Linked DNA regions of Homo sapiens: region 1 is linked to region 2. The links are contacts of gene promoters, found by promoter capture Hi-C in blood cells and fetal thymus (Javierre and others, 2016). All regions are on one chromosome and are shown on one strand. The core of a region is centred on a gene start or on the middle of the fragment in contact, and the rest is flanking DNA. Distances in the headings are between cores, read along the strand shown.

Region 1 (2,828 bases), core at 304-2,803, 1.9 Mb after region 2:
CCCCCATTACAGTTTCTAACTAGTTATTTGGTGATTACTAGTTCTTGTGAAACAGGTATGTTTCCATATCCTCCTTGTACAAATGGCTTAATAGTGCTTAAGGAGTTTATTGTCAAGACATGGAAGACTGCTAAAGACAAGCAAAATAGAATCATTTCTGCCCCTCAGCTTAGGCAGCCCTTGAGGAGGAAATGCCAATTGCTCCCTTTAATGTTTGGAAAGAGAAATGTGATTATTGTAGCTCTTAAGGCAGACAACTAAAAAATCTTGTTGAAATGGATTTCTTCTAGGAATTCAGGGCCTCTCTTCAGACTCTACAAGTCATATGCTCTATTAAAGCATAGTTTCCACGATAACTACTTGCTGGCATAAAGGCCACGAACAGTTCTTACTTTCTGGGGTCATTCTTCAAATTAACAACAAAGTCCACCCCATCCCTTACCCCTACCCCTAGGTATGATAATTTCATCTCCACGAAAACATATTACTGCTAAACCCAAGCGGTTCAGCATGCCACTTTTCGGATCTGATGTCAATTTACAATCCTTCAAAGCTCAAAAGCTACTTTTTCCTTTTGTCAGCAAGACACTTCCACCCTCGTGTGTCTTGTACATACTGATAGGTCACAGCAAACATTCATTGAATTTTAACTGGGAGCATTTTGGATGGAAATCAAGAGACCTGGGATTAACTGTAAAACCCATGATAAATTATACCAAACGAATGAACAAGAAGCAAGCACTACGTGTTTTTCCCTTTGAGACAGTCTCACTGTTACCCAGGCTGGAGTGCAGTGGCTCGATCTCGACTCACTGCAACTTCCGCCTCTCAAGGTAAAGCGATGCTCCTGCCTCAGCCTCCCGAGTGGCTGGGAGTACAGACGCGCACCACCACGCGGGCCATTTTTTTTAAAATTGTTTGTAGAGACGGGTTCTCCCTATGCCTACGCTGCCAAGGGTGGTCTCGAACTCCTGGGCTCAAGAGATTCTCCGGCCTCGGCCTCCCAAAGTGCTGGGATTACAGGCGTGGGCGTGTAAGCATATATATACATGATTTTTTTTTCCCGAGGACCTGGTCCCCGAAGCACCAATTTCCCTCAACAGTCATTTAGAAAACGAGGCTCACAGACAAAACACAAACAAATAACTTTTTCGCTGGAGGATTATAACTGCAATAAAAGGAGATCCCAAAGCAACCTGAGACACTGCCTTGCCCTGATTGGAAAGGGGATTCCGGTGATTAGTGAAAGATGACTCCTGCATCCCTCGCGTGCGTCCGTATCCGGGAGCAGCCACTAGGTAACTGTAGAGGCCACTGCAATTAATCGGCTTGAACAGCCAGGAGCGGAAACCCGAGAGTCAGTTCAACCACAGCCACCCGCGTGTGCCCGCGGAAAGCCGATGGCCTACTCTCGTCCGGCAGCGCACTGGTTTCCTGGGTTACCGGCCTCAGCGCTCCTCCCGCTTTCTTTTCCGGGAGGCGACAATCTGACGCTCTCAGCGCGTGACGCAGCACGCTTTGATATAAATGCAGACCGCGCGGCCGTAGCTTCCTCTCTGCTCTCGCGGCCGACTCGCAAGATGGCGCCGGTGAGTGAGCGATGTCTTGGTGGGAGTGTTGTGTGGCAATTTAATGATTTCCGCTGTAACGATTTTTGCATCTGTCGAGTGGAGACGTCTCAGTCAAGATAAAGGGAGGGGAGTAGTGAAGTCTGGGTCAGAAACACAACCAAGACGCGAGGATCCTGAACTGTTTTTCGAGACTCCCTGGCAGCTGCCATGAGGTCTAGTGGAGTTGGAGCTGGGCCCGGAATTGGTTTAGGATGGGTGGTTTTGGACACGCGGGAAAGAGGGAGGCACAACTGTAAATGGGCCGGTGGTACTGCAATCTGAGCCATTTCTTTACTATCTCGCGCCTGATAATGCTTTTGCCACTCAGCACTGGGTAGGGGAATGGTGGGTAATCGGGCCGGTCTGACGACCTTTGCCAGGCCAGAGGGAGCTCCTAGGCGCTCAGCTCCCGCGATGGCCGACATCACAAGTTTTTGAGAACTTTCAGTTGGGGAAGAAGTTTCTCGGTGAAGTAATTTTTAGAAAAGTATAAGTCTAGATTCCAGCAATGTGAAATAAACGTGCTTCAGATGTTTTACTTAAGTCATTAGTAAGGGAACCAGTAAGATGTTAAAATGTTCCTAAGAATATCTGAAAAGCTAGATATACATGCGCAATTTACAAATAAAGTTAGGATAAAATTGCTGGGCTAGCTACAAAACTGGGTAATGCCCAGCATGGCCATAAACCCTATAGGGTTATCTGTTCCATTAGACAGAAGTTGTTTGTGTCTCCCAAATTAACTTCTGCGCCAACTGGGTAATTATCTTTTGGCACATGTTACCATGCTACCTGAGAAAGCAAACTAATGTGTAATACTTGGTAGCCACTTGGGTGAATCTAAATTGGAGGTTATAGTCTGATAAATACAGATTTGTTTGTTCATATTGCAGTGAATGTACATGGTTGCTGGCCACAGTAACATTTTGCTTATGTAGCCATATTATATGGTCTTGGTATAAAAGGTTTGGATATGGAAAATTTAAGTTCCACGGTGTTGGTTTTTAGGTTTTTTTTTTTTTTTGAGACAGAGTCTGTTGCCCAGGTGGGAGTATAGTGGCATGATCAGGCTCACTACAACCTCCGCCTCCCGGGTTCAAGCAATCCTCCCGACTCAGCCTCCTGAATAGCTAGGATTATAAGCATGCACCACCACACCTGGCTAATTTTTGTATTTTTACTAGAGATGGGGTTTCACCATGTTGGCCAGGCTGGCCT
Region 2 (2,700 bases), core at 13-2,512:
ATGATACTGTATATGATCAATTTATTGCCAAAACAGCTTCAAAATGTATAGAGAAAAAGAGATGCACTACGGTAACTTGATGACATAACTAACATCCAACAGTCAGATTAGAAATGGAAATATATTAATCACTTTTTTTCAAATTACTGTATTCCAGAAGCCTTTAAAATAAGCACAATAGGATCAGTGTTCATAAACCTACACAGCTTCTCACCCAAGAACAGACCCAAGGAGCTTCTAACTAAACACACTATAACACATGCCCCCTTTTATCCCAGAGATAAAATTTGCCATGTAAACAAACATTCAAGTTTCCTTTTACTTAAATACTTTTTAGGCAATCATCTTCCAAGGTGAAGGACTAAAATGCAATCCAAGATATAATGGTGGTGTTATTAACAATAACATTACTATTAACAACTGACATTTACTTAACGCTTAATACGTGGCAGACATTGTCCTAAACCTTTTAATCTCTGCAGTAATCCTAAGAGGCAGGTACTATTATTATTTTCAATGTATGGATGAAGAAACGTAGGAACAGAGAGGTTAAGCAACTTCCCCTAAGTCAAACTGTTAGTAAGGGGTAAAAGAGGTATTCAAAGCCCGGCTAAATCCAGAGGCTGCGCCTTTAACCACTAAGCCGGACACATCTGTGCCGGGTGGCTGGGGAGGACGAGGGGCGGATGGCCTGGATTTATCTTGCAAAAACGAAAAATTAAACTTCCCGCAAAGAAGCCAGGATGAATCCTAGAATAAAACCACGGCGCACTCTGAGATAAGCCCCCAAAGGCTGCAAGTGCCGGCCCCCAAAGCCACAGGGCTGCGCGGCTTGCCAAAATCCCTTTCCCAACTCCCTCCCTTCACCCACACTCTTCTGTCCAAAAGAGCCAACAGGTGAGGGCGAAGATGCCCAGCAATACTGGGGGCTTCGGTCTCCCACTCCGCGTCAGGGCCCGGCTGCTGGGGGTGGGGTGCGGCGAGGGAGTTCCCGGATCCGGGAAGCCTGAGCTGGGGCGCTCCGGAATTCGCGGTCACTAGGGGCGGGGACGTCGACCGCAGGCAAAAGAGCCCTTGGCTCTGGAGCCGCTCGCCCACTTGCACCTCTCTCACTCACACAGAGTCCTTACCACTCTCAAAAAAGCCCTAGGAGTTCCACCTCTTCAAACGCCGACTCCTCTCACAAATACCGCCATTCCTCGCCGGCGGCCGCCACAACCGATTCAAAAACTAAGCTGCTCTCTCTAAGAGCCATGCCGATTGGCGCGTGATGTCAACCTCTTTCCCATAGGCAGGAGTCTCCAGAGGGGCGGTGATTGGTCGACGCTCTCCAAGTCCCGGCAGGCGCCGCTTGATTGGTTGTGCGTGTGTTTCAAATAAGCCCAACGACTCGGGCGTCGGGACGCCAGGAGTTTGCAGAGAAGTGCCCGGATGTGGCCAGGAGGTGGCGGTGGTGGCTCCTGAGGTCTTAAAGGAGTAGCAGGTGTTTCTGTGACTACCGCATATTTACTCAGTAAACATCCTACTTCCTGAGGAAAGTTTGGGTGGATTCTCCTCGGCCCCACCCAGCTTTTTTTTTTTTTTAAACGATACCAAATCTTTTAAGCTTAAATCAGTGCCGCCAGAGATAAATGTTTCCCTGCTGCTTGCTGTGAGCTGTAGGATTTTCCTATCGGGATGCTTTCTGCTTTAGGAATGTATTTAAATTTGAGTTAAGGGATTTTGACTTTGATGGTTGTATTGGCGTGTGGCAGGGCCAAGGACCGGTCCTAGAACTCGGACTCCCCAGGTGGACTTCAAATCAGCAGCCGCTTATTTAAATGCTATTATTTAAAGCACTGCGCTCCCATCTAGGGAGTATCGCGGGTTAGAATCAATTCTTAGAAATTAGAAAAATTCTCGGATTTTTTTAAAGATAAGCTTGAATTTGATAAAAATATGCCACGAGATTCTAGAATTTTTGGAGCCAAATTGCTTCGTCTTTGCCCCCCTCCGCCCACTAAGAACTTGTACTTTCCCCTAAAGTCTAGTCAAGAATGTATCAAGTTTTTCCTGTGATTAGCGTTGCTATTATGAAAATAATTTCTTTATTTTCTAAATATGATACCATATAACACAATCTCTTAAGAAAAATACACCCCCACCAGGTGGGTTTTCCATAGTTCCCACCTGAAGGCTAATATAAATAGAAGAAGAAAGGGGAATCAGATGCCAGAACCTAAATACCAATAAGAAGAGGCAAACGTGTACTTTGGGATGGAACACTTGTGAGCATCTCAAGCAGGTTGTGGGGACTTAACAATTTTTTCTAATTTTGTCAGGCAATCTTAGAATGCCTGAAAAGTTTATAATGCTGTCCACAAAATGAATGAAGCAATCTGGTAATTATTGGTTTCCCTGCTTGTCAGTATTTAAGTCTGACCTTCATTAAAATGCTGTGATAACTGTTACGGCAGAAAAAAAGAAAAACAGTAATTGAAATTTCCATTTGGAATGTGCTTGCGTATTTGGAAGTCGGGTGTGCCCAGCATTCCAAAAACGTTCATCACTGAAAACATATTAAGCTATTGTGGGAAGCAGCCCTACTTCCTTTGTGCACCGCTTTCTGCTCAACAGACTTTCCAAAGCTAATGATTAACTGTGTATGGTATCATTGCCATGAATTTTAAGCTTCCCTAACAAAAGCTGTACTTGATTTCT

What was found. Contacts are between HindIII fragments. The CHiCAGO score rates a contact against its expected background, and 5 or more counts as called.
Region 1: a contact is called between the fragment with the promoter of RPL22L1 here and the fragment with the promoter of ECT2 in region 2, in 2 of 17 cell types (naive CD8 T cells and non-activated CD4 T cells). The highest score is 6.6, in naive CD8 T cells.

What each region holds. Positions count from the first base shown.
Region 1 is chr3:170,868,920-170,871,747 of GRCh38, reverse strand. It overlaps RPL22L1 (ribosomal protein L22 like 1), which reads left to right and starts at 1,553. Exons shown (of 4, transcript NM_001099645.2): 1 at 1,553-1,589. The coding sequence starts at 1,581. RefSeq lists enhancers at 389-1,114, 1,115-1,841, 2,011-2,060. The HindIII fragment of the contact is 15,380 bases long and covers 1-2,828 here.
Region 2 is chr3:172,749,288-172,751,987 of GRCh38, reverse strand. It overlaps ECT2 (epithelial cell transforming 2), which reads right to left and starts at 1,262. Exons shown (of 25, transcript NM_001258315.2): 1 at 1,131-1,262. RefSeq lists a silencer at 847-916 and enhancers at 1,027-1,286, 1,307-1,356, 1,457-1,726. The HindIII fragment of the contact is 5,304 bases long and covers 1-1,608 here.